3 separate regions of the Homo sapiens genome follow, and all the other regions are linked to region 1. The links are contacts of gene promoters, found by promoter capture Hi-C in blood cells and fetal thymus (Javierre and others, 2016). All regions are on one chromosome and are shown on one strand. Each heading gives the region's core, a stretch centred on a gene start or on the middle of the fragment in contact. The rest is flanking DNA. Distances are from core to core; before and after follow the strand shown.

Evidence for each region. The method cuts DNA at HindIII sites, captures the fragments that hold promoters and counts their contacts. A CHiCAGO score of 5 or more calls a contact.
Region 2: a contact is called between a fragment that was not itself captured here and the fragment with the promoter of FOS in region 1, in 6 of 17 cell types (monocytes, total CD8 T cells, naive CD8 T cells and 3 more). The highest score is 8.7, in monocytes.
Region 3: a contact is called between a fragment that was not itself captured here and the fragment with the promoter of FOS in region 1, in 1 of 17 cell types (monocytes). The highest score is 6.0, in monocytes.

Annotation. Positions count from the first base shown.
Region 1 is chr14:75,277,199-75,280,739 of GRCh38, forward strand. It overlaps FOS (Fos proto-oncogene, AP-1 transcription factor subunit), which reads left to right and starts at 1,630. Exons shown (of 4, transcript NM_005252.4): 1 at 1,630-1,925; 2 at 2,679-2,930; 3 at 3,362-3,469. The coding sequence starts at 1,785. RefSeq lists silencers at 1-303, 1,032-1,121, 1,472-1,531 and enhancers at 1,620-2,547, 1,902-1,961, 2,548-3,473, 3,500-3,541. The HindIII fragment of the contact is 6,704 bases long and covers 1-3,541 here.
Region 2 is chr14:75,236,866-75,240,000 of GRCh38, forward strand. No RefSeq gene overlaps it. Among named protein-coding and RNA genes, the nearest start is that of FOS, 40 kb to the right of the region's middle. RefSeq lists an enhancer at 1-1,485. The HindIII fragment of the contact is 2,964 bases long and covers 242-3,135 here.
Region 3 is chr14:75,337,377-75,340,462 of GRCh38, forward strand. No RefSeq gene overlaps it. Among named protein-coding and RNA genes, the nearest start is that of LINC01220, 45 kb to the left of the region's middle. The HindIII fragment of the contact is 549 bases long and covers 1,484-2,032 here.

The DNA.
Region 1 (3,541 bases), core at 380-2,879:
CCTGGAGACGGCCCTGGCGGCGCTGTGTTGCTGTAAACAGCCGCTTCCCTGTTACTATCTATAGCAGGATCTCCTGGCTCCCGGGCGCGGCGGCTGGAGGCAGGTCTGCGGTCCGGCTCCCCGCGCGCCCCGAACTATCCGCCCGCCGGCCTCATCCTGCCTCGCCCCTCTCCAGGTGCCCACCGCGGGCCCCGACCCCCGGGCCCGAAGAGTGGAGAAGGGAAGACCGGGGCTGTGCGGGGACATGCGTCTTCGCGCCCTGGAGGTGGCCAGCGCGCTGGGGCTGAGCCCCGGCAGCGTGACCCCGGCTGTCCTACGCAGCAGGGCAGGAGATTGGGGGGCGTGGCACACTCTGGAGCACCTTGCCTCCCCAAAGCCCCGTGTTCCAGGACGTGGAGCCGCTCCTGGGGTCCCAGCAGTCGAGGTATTCCGCCCAGGCGCAGCTGGACACTGTCCTTCCAGCCCCCGTCCTCCACCCTCCAAGTCCGCGCTGGAAAATCACCCGCTGCGGGCTCCCGTAAGCACAGCTTCCTGGCGGGACCGAACCAGCCCTCAGCGCAGATTTGAGTTCCCCGCAGGAAGCACACCCCGCCTTGTCATCCCGAACTGACCACCCTGCCCACATAACCACACCTCGCACTCCCTACCCCTGGGGCCCAGCTCAGAACCGGGCAGACACCCCCTTCAAATGTCTTCGCACGTAGGTTTTGCACAGTGTTTATCTGCTGGTGTCTCAGGGATTTGACAGTTTCCTTAATATTCCCACACATGGCCGAGAAAAATAAATAAATAAATGCGCTGTCTTCTTTAAAAAAATAAATAAATAAAGTACCCAGTATCGTAAAGTAGGTTATCGTATTCTCTTATTTTGGATCCTCCACTTTCTGCTTCCAAACGCAGGAACAGTGCTAGTATTGCTCGAGCCCGAGGGCTGGAGGTTAGGGGATGAAGGTCTGCTTCCACGCTTTGCACTGAATTAGGGCTAGAATTGGGGATGGGGGTAGGGGCGCATTCCTTCGGGAGCCGAGGCTTAAGTCCTCGGGGTCCTGTACTCGATGCCGTTTCTCCTATCTCTGAGCCTCAGAACTGTCTTCAGTTTCCGTACAAGGGTAAAAAGGCGCTCTCTGCCCCATCCCCCCCGACCTCGGGAACAAGGGTCCGCATTGAACCAGGTGCGAATGTTCTCTCTCATTCTGCGCCGTTCCCGCCTCCCCTCCCCCAGCCGCGGCCCCCGCCTCCCCCCGCACTGCACCCTCGGTGTTGGCTGCAGCCCGCGAGCAGTTCCCGTCAATCCCTCCCCCCTTACACAGGATGTCCATATTAGGACATCTGCGTCAGCAGGTTTCCACGGCCTTTCCCTGTAGCCCTGGGGGGAGCCATCCCCGAAACCCCTCATCTTGGGGGGCCCACGAGACCTCTGAGACAGGAACTGCGAAATGCTCACGAGATTAGGACACGCGCCAAGGCGGGGGCAGGGAGCTGCGAGCGCTGGGGACGCAGCCGGGCGGCCGCAGAAGCGCCCAGGCCCGCGCGCCACCCCTCTGGCGCCACCGTGGTTGAGCCCGTGACGTTTACACTCATTCATAAAACGCTTGTTATAAAAGCAGTGGCTGCGGCGCCTCGTACTCCAACCGCATCTGCAGCGAGCATCTGAGAAGCCAAGACTGAGCCGGCGGCCGCGGCGCAGCGAACGAGCAGTGACCGTGCTCCTACCCAGCTCTGCTCCACAGCGCCCACCTGTCTCCGCCCCTCGGCCCCTCGCCCGGCTTTGCCTAACCGCCACGATGATGTTCTCGGGCTTCAACGCAGACTACGAGGCGTCATCCTCCCGCTGCAGCAGCGCGTCCCCGGCCGGGGATAGCCTCTCTTACTACCACTCACCCGCAGACTCCTTCTCCAGCATGGGCTCGCCTGTCAACGCGCAGGTAAGGCTGGCTTCCCGTCGCCGCGGGGCCGGGGGCTTGGGGTCGCGGAGGAGGAGACACCGGGCGGGACGCTCCAGTAGATGAGTAGGGGGCTCCCTTGTGCCTGGAGGGAGGCTGCCGTGGCCGGAGCGGTGCCGGCTCGGGGGCTCGGGACTTGCTCTGAGCGCACGCACGCTTGCCATAGTAAGAATTGGTTCCCCCTTCGGGAGGCAGGTTCGTTCTGAGCAACCTCTGGTCTGCACTCCAGGACGGATCTCTGACATTAGCTGGAGCAGACGTGTCCCAAGCACAAACTCGCTAACTAGAGCCTGGCTTCTCCGGGGAGGTGGCAGAAAGCGGCAATCCCCCCTCCCCCGGCAGCCTGGAGCACGGAGGAGGGATGAGGGAGGAGGGTGCAGCGGGCGGGTGTGTAAGGCAGTTTCATTGATAAAAAGCGAGTTCATTCTGGAGACTCCGGAGCGGCGCCTGCGTCAGCGCAGACGTCAGGGATATTTATAACAAACCCCCTTTCAAGCAAGTGATGCTGAAGGGATAACGGGAACGCAGCGGCAGGATGGAAGAGACAGGCACTGCGCTGCGGAATGCCTGGGAGGAAAAGGGGGAGACCTTTCATCCAGGATGAGGGACATTTAAGATGAAATGTCCGTGGCAGGATCGTTTCTCTTCACTGCTGCATGCGGCACTGGGAACTCGCCCCACCTGTGTCCGGAACCTGCTCGCTCACGTCGGCTTTCCCCTTCTGTTTTGTTCTAGGACTTCTGCACGGACCTGGCCGTCTCCAGTGCCAACTTCATTCCCACGGTCACTGCCATCTCGACCAGTCCGGACCTGCAGTGGCTGGTGCAGCCCGCCCTCGTCTCCTCCGTGGCCCCATCGCAGACCAGAGCCCCTCACCCTTTCGGAGTCCCCGCCCCCTCCGCTGGGGCTTACTCCAGGGCTGGCGTTGTGAAGACCATGACAGGAGGCCGAGCGCAGAGCATTGGCAGGAGGGGCAAGGTGGAACAGGTGAGGAACTCTAGCGTACTCTTCCTGGGAATGTGGGGGCTGGGTGGGAAGCAGCCCCGGAGATGCAGGAGCCCAGTACAGAGGATGAAGCCACTGATGGGGCTGGCTGCACATCCGTAACTGGGAGCCCTGGCTCCAAGCCCATTCCATCCCAACTCAGACTCTGAGTCTCACCCTAAGAAGTACTCTCATAGTTTCTTCCCTAAGTTTCTTACCGCATGCTTTCAGACTGGGCTCTTCTTTGTTCTCTTGCTGAGGATCTTATTTTAAATGCAAGTCACACCTAGTCTGCAACTGCAGGTCAGAAATGGTTTCACAGTGGGGTGCCAGGAAGCAGGGAAGCTGCAGGAGCCAGTTCTACTGGGGTGGGTGAATGGAGGTGATGGCAGACACTTTTACTGAATGTCGGTCTTTTTTTGTGATTATTCTAGTTATCTCCAGAAGAAGAAGAGAAAAGGAGAATCCGAAGGGAAAGGAATAAGATGGCTGCAGCCAAATGCCGCAACCGGAGGAGGGAGCTGACTGATACACTCCAAGCGGTAGGTACTCTGTGGGTTGCTCCTTTTTAAAACTTAAGGGGAAAGTTGGAGATTGAGCATAAGGGCCCTTGA
Region 2 (3,135 bases), core at 474-2,973, 40 kb before region 1:
ATCATATCTGGTACAAAATGACTAACCTTTAACTGTGCATCTTTTGGGGGAAAAAATCATTCTGCCCTGTTTTCCCTCAAGCAGAAAAAGAACAAATCACCTGCTGCCTCGGCAGGACAGGATTTCTGCCAATCCCACCTGTAAGCAGCGTTCATGGCTTCCAGACAAAGTGGGGGCCCGGGGCCTGCAGAACAGTCGGCCACATTCACCAGCCTGTCTCTCCTCTGGACCTCTTGGCACAAGCTTTTACTCTCCAGACTGTGTGTGTTTGGTTGAATTGAAATAAACACAGCAGGATTTTGTTTTAGTTTGTTGTTTGTTTTGCAGAACGAGGTCTTAGAGGAAGGACTTCCCAGCCAAACTTGACCCCACACAGGCCAGAGAGAAGCGGTAGGGAGGGCGGCGAGAAGGAACTATGAAGTAAAATGGGGACTGGTGTGGGGACTGACTTCCTCCCCCAAAAACCTGGAACATTCTTCTCAAAGCCCCATGCCGCCAAACTTCCCAGCCATTCCCTTGAAATGTTCTCAGAGCAGGGCTCCACATGGCTCACATGTACACCCGTGCGTGTGTGTACCACACACACACACACACACACACACACACACACAGAGTTCTGTCTGGTAACAGATTGGGTCTGAAAAATCTGGCAGTCTGCGTGGCCGATGGCAGAGTGTCGAGCCTGTTCTCACTGTCTCCCTGGAGTCCCTGTGCAGACGCAGGTGCACGTCAGCGCCTGCTCTAATTTTATCCCTGGTTGATGGAGGAGACTAACTGAGCAGCAGGGAGGCTGCTATTTTGGGTCTCTCCATGGCTCTGGGTTATATAAAGCCTATTGCTGTGACCTGCATTGCTTTGAGGCTGTGCCTCACTGTCTTGCGTCCTCTGTCACAATATGTCATCAGTTCAGACATTCACACACACACACCCCCGGGTCTCTGGAAAATGAGAAAGGAGGTGTGTGCTGGAGGAGTGTGTGTGTGTGTGTGTGTGTGTGTGTGTGTGTGTGTGTGTGTTCCTGCCAGCTCCCTGAGGAATGAGGCCTACGTATGCTACTGGGAGGGATATTGTACGTGAAGGAGGTCTGTTCTTGAAGGAAATGGAAAGATCTTTCTGATGGAGGCACGTGAGGGTATGTGCTTTGGGCTTTAGCACAGAATGTGTTTGTAAGCTGAGGTTGTGGGTCTGCTGTTGGCATGGCAATAAGAATAACTTCTATTTCAGTAACTCTTTTCATTTGATGGAACCCAGGGGTTGCATAAATTACAAACGGCTCTGCCTTTGAACGACAGGAATTTTTCATCTGGAATTAGGAGTAGCAGCTACATGAACAAATGTGAGAGTGAGAATTTAGAGATGGGCTGATGACAGAAGATGGCATTTCCTACATCACTGAGGAAAATTTTCACCTGGAAATGTTGCCTTTCTGATTAAAAAAACAAAACAAAACAAAACTTGTTTCCTGCTATTGTGATTATCGTGTATTGTGTTAAGATATGTGTTTTCTGACCAGGCATGGTTACCCACACCTGTAATCCCAGCATGTTGGGAACCTGAGGTAGGAGAATTGCATGAGCCCAGGAGTTTGACACCAGCCTGGGCAACATAGTGAGACCCCTGTCTCTTAAAAAAAAAAAGATATGTGTTTTCTATAGTTAATCATATATGATATCTAAATTATCTTTGTATCTCCCCATATTGAGTGTGAGTATTTAAGGTATAAATTTTGATAGGTGAACATACAACAGAATCCTAATATAACACAGCTCATTATTGTATGAATTTGAAAGTACTAGGTTTCTCAAAATATAAATTATTCACAGGGAACAAGCCTAACATATCTCAGTGAGCTTATCAGACAGATATTCATCCTGTCCCCCCAATACCAGCAGGGAAGACATGTTCCGTACTTGTTGAGCTACGTGTCTCCCAGGTATAATCTCCCAGGGTATATTCTGGCTAACATGATGGAGCCCATAAGGCATCACCATGGGAATGAGGACTTGGCATGGACACCTCTTGGCTCGTGGAGACTGCCAGAATGTGAGGCCTGCGGCTGGGGCTCATCTTGCTGATTTGGGCTTCCCGTCACTGGCAGCTCCCACAGCAGGTGGCGTTCCCATAACTAGCAACTTCACTGAGCCACTATTTCTTAGCTGTTCTTTGAAAGACGTTGAAGACCCCTCTCTTCCACTGGCCAAAGCACTTCTAAGGGATTTTGGAGAGAAAAACTTGGGAGCTTTCCATGAAGAAAACAGAAGAATCTGGCAGCCGTTTCCATAGGGCTGAACAGGCACCTTAGAGAATTCCAGTGAAGAGGGCAGCTAAGGGAAGAAGGAAACAGAAACGGACTAGAATCAAAGTCAGGGCTCCTAGGGGCTGGATGGGGAAATGAAGCTAGGAATGGGGAAGGTATAGATGAATCACTGCGTCGCTTATTAATAATTAATTTAGGCAGAATCTTGCTACTCATGTCCTCCCCCCACCATGGCTGGGGGCAGGAGCTCACCATTCTGGCTCTTTAGTGGTCTGCTTGTTGCCTTCCAATGCCACTCCATCATGCTGTCTGTGTCCTTTCTAAAACACAAATCCTGTGATCCCACTGGGTAAGCCTGTTCCATGGCCCTTCATTTCTCTCTCTGGAGAAAACCTAAATGTTTTACCAGGTAGACAAGGCCCTCTGCAACCTGGGACCTGCTTATTTCTCTGGCTCAGCTCAAACTGCAATCCTCTCAACCCTTCACACCAGCCCTCTCCTCCTTCCACTCCTTGGCACATTTTTTTTTTTTTTTGGATACAATGTCTCACTCTGTCACCCAGGCTGGGATGCAGTGCGTGATCTCGACTCACTGTAGCCTCGACTTCCGGGGTTCAAGGGATCCTCCCATCCTCCCACTTTAGCTTCCCCAGTAGCTGGGACCACAGGCATGTGCCACCACGCCTGGCTAATTTTTCCACTTTTTTTTTTTTGTAGAGATGGGGTTTTGCCATATTGCCCAGGCAGGTCTTTAACTCCTGGGCTCAAGTGATCCATGCGTCTCACCCTCCCAAATTGCTGGGATTATGGGCATGAGCTACGGTATCCTGTCCTTGGCACCTTAAAGCTAAATGTGCTGAACTCTCCCATCCTCTGTG
Region 3 (3,086 bases), core at 508-3,007, 60 kb after region 1:
ATCATCATGGTTCTATATCATCCAATCCTTTCATTAGTTTGTTGCTTAAATTGTTCCAGCCTTGCTCGTTGGGAACTCCTGGTTCCTTTTGACATGCCCACATTAAAAAAAAAAAATGATGCATAATGGATGTACATAGTTTTGGGGCCCCCATTTTTTTTCCAATTCCTTACTTTCTGGCATTACAAGCTGCTCCAAAACTCACCTTGTGTTTTCACTGCTTTAGCCCTAGAATCAGTTATTTCTCCAAGGAGCCTGGTTCCTTTAATCAGAGAATGGTATTTAGAAACCATGTTTCTGAGTGTTGGGTGTGCTCGTTGCTACTGGGGTGTCATTGCTTCTAGGCCCTCTCAGTGAACAGTTAGGAATATTTACATATATTTATGTATATATGTATGTATGCTAACCCATGAATATGTGCATATCTATGTTTGTGTATCTGTCTATTTGTATATATACTTTTAAAAAGAGTTTGTGCCAGGCGCAGTGGCTCACACCTGCAATCCCAGCGCTTTGGGAGGCCAAGGTGGGTGGATCACCTGTGTCAGGAGTTTGAGACCGACCTGATCAACATGGTGAAACCCCGTCTCTACTAAAAACATAAAAAAATTAGCTGAGTGTGGTGGTGCATGCCTGTAGTCCCAGCTACTTGGGAGGCTGGGGAGGAGAATCACTTGAACCCAGGAGGCAGAAGTTGCAGTGAGCCAAGATCGTGCCATTGCACAGTAGCCTGGGCAACAAGAGTGAAACTCTGTCCCCAAAAAAAGAAAAAAAAAGAAAGAATTTGTATTATCTCTGACTTGAATCCAACCCTGCAGGTTTCATTCTAACCTTCTCCCTTTTCTCACTGCTGCTTTTTTCTCTGATGGTGAGAAACCTGACTCCCATTATCTATAATTTATTTACATATTTGTTCAACCCTAGTATACATGTGAAGTAGTTTCAGAATCACCAATGTAGTTCCCTATGAAAAGTAAATTTATCAACTAGAGTATAGTGTTTTTGCAGAGTTCTTTTTGCACAGTATTTTTTTAGCTTTACAGATTCCAGTCAAACACATCATTTTCCATTGTGTGTGAAGTTTGTGACAGTGAAATAAAAAAGAAAAAAACCCCATCATTTTCCAAAGTTACTTAGGTCAGCTTCTTTTTTTTCCTTCTTGATGGGCACATCTTAATATTTCCAAAGCATTTCTACATCTGGTTTCTTTTATCATATCATTGTTGGATGGGGGAAGAAGAAACCATGACATATGAAGGTTGAACTGGTTGTCTCAGGTCACATGATCAGCTGGATCATGATTAGAACTACTTTGGGCTTTGCTGGACCATACCACCTTTCCTAGAGTTGCTGTTTTCTTGGTGGGTCTGGGCTGCAAAGCCAGCTGTTGCAGAGAATGTCTGGTGAAAGGAGAAGGTGAAGTACGGCTGGGAAGCTCTGTCTTTTTTGGTCAGGCAGAATTGTCAGATGTCAGTGGGAAGGAAGCTTAGAGATCTCATGGTTCAACTCACTTTCCTTATGGATGGGGAAACTGAAGCCTAGAGAGGTGATGTACCTTGTCCAAGATGAACTAGTTGGTTAGAGCCATGGGTGGGAATAGGATTCAGAACTCTGTGCTCCCATATCTGTGCTCTTCCCACCACACTGCATGGGCTACAAGGTCAAGGGGTTGCAGGTTTGGAGAGAAAGACCCTTTGAAATTGTTTCTACAGGGCCGGGAGAATTTGCCATCATTCCCTAAATAGAGAGGTTCTTTCATACCTTAAGCATTCTGAAGTGGTCAGAGAGCTAATTAAGAAATGCCTGATGGGTCTGGAAATTTGCTTCCCACATGTTGCAACAGTAATGATCTCATCTAAAAGTGGCGACTTGAGGGATGTTGTGAATTCCAGAGCTGCCGTTTTTAAGCGTGTCATGTCCTCTCTTAATTGTCACCCTCTAGCATCTGCAAAGCTGAGGATAGTAGTGTCTATCCTGTTCAGGTCATGGAGTTATTTTAAGGCTCCTTGCTTAACTGTAAGACAGGAATCAAAGCTTTTTTTTCTTTTCTTTCTTCCTTCTAACTGCTGGTTTCCTAACCTCCAGCATAGTACATAGAACACAGTAGGAATTCAATAAATATTTATTGGATGAATGAATAAAGAATCATATGAGGTCCTTCAGTTAAAAGTACACTGTCATCTCTAAAGCACTATACAGATGTAAGGGACTGCTAATGACATTAACTAACACTCTGAATTAGGGCGAGTTGGTTACCCTCTGTGGACTTCAGTGTCCTATCTGCCATACGAGATGCTCCAGGCTCATCTTGCATTTTGGATTAAAGCTGATGATTTCTAAGGTCTCTTTCAGATCTGTAATTCTGTAATTGCAGTGATACTTATTATCAAGAGTATTTGTGAGAATTTTCAGATTGGTTTAGGATATGAAAGTATCACATGCCATCATGGACTACAGCAGAGATAACATCCTTTGCATGTGTGATTTCTAGTTGATTGGTAGTGGCTGCCTGGAATGCAATGTTGAGAAAGACTCTGAGGGTCAGCAGAATAGTGATGATTAGTGATTAGTGATGATTAGAATGATTGATTCACGATGTCTGTCAGGAACACGGAATATCAGGTAGTTGCAAGCATGCCAAATATCTGCCATCTCCAACCTAGATGCCTAAAACAGCGTTGCCCTGGAATTTCTGGCAGGAATGTTACTATTATTATTTTCTTGATTTTGCATAATAATGGAGAGAGATTGCTTGGATGAAGCCAGGGTTTCCTAGAGGTAAACAAAGAGCCCTATAGACTTGTAGTAAGACTTGCCACCGTTCTGCCTTTGATTGCCTCTCTCCTATTTTTTAATTTATCAGGCAAATAAAGATGAACATGTTCAACTGATTGATGAGAAGCACATCCAGGCCCAGGATTCTTTCTACTACTCTGGGACTCAAGCAGATACATGGCTTCTGTTCTTGAGGAAATTGAGAATGTAGAAGGATGCAAACATTCTAGACATAAACACGAACCCACTCACCCAAAAAGTACATGATGAACACCTACAGTATGCTAGGCAGGCCCAGGTAAATGGCTTGG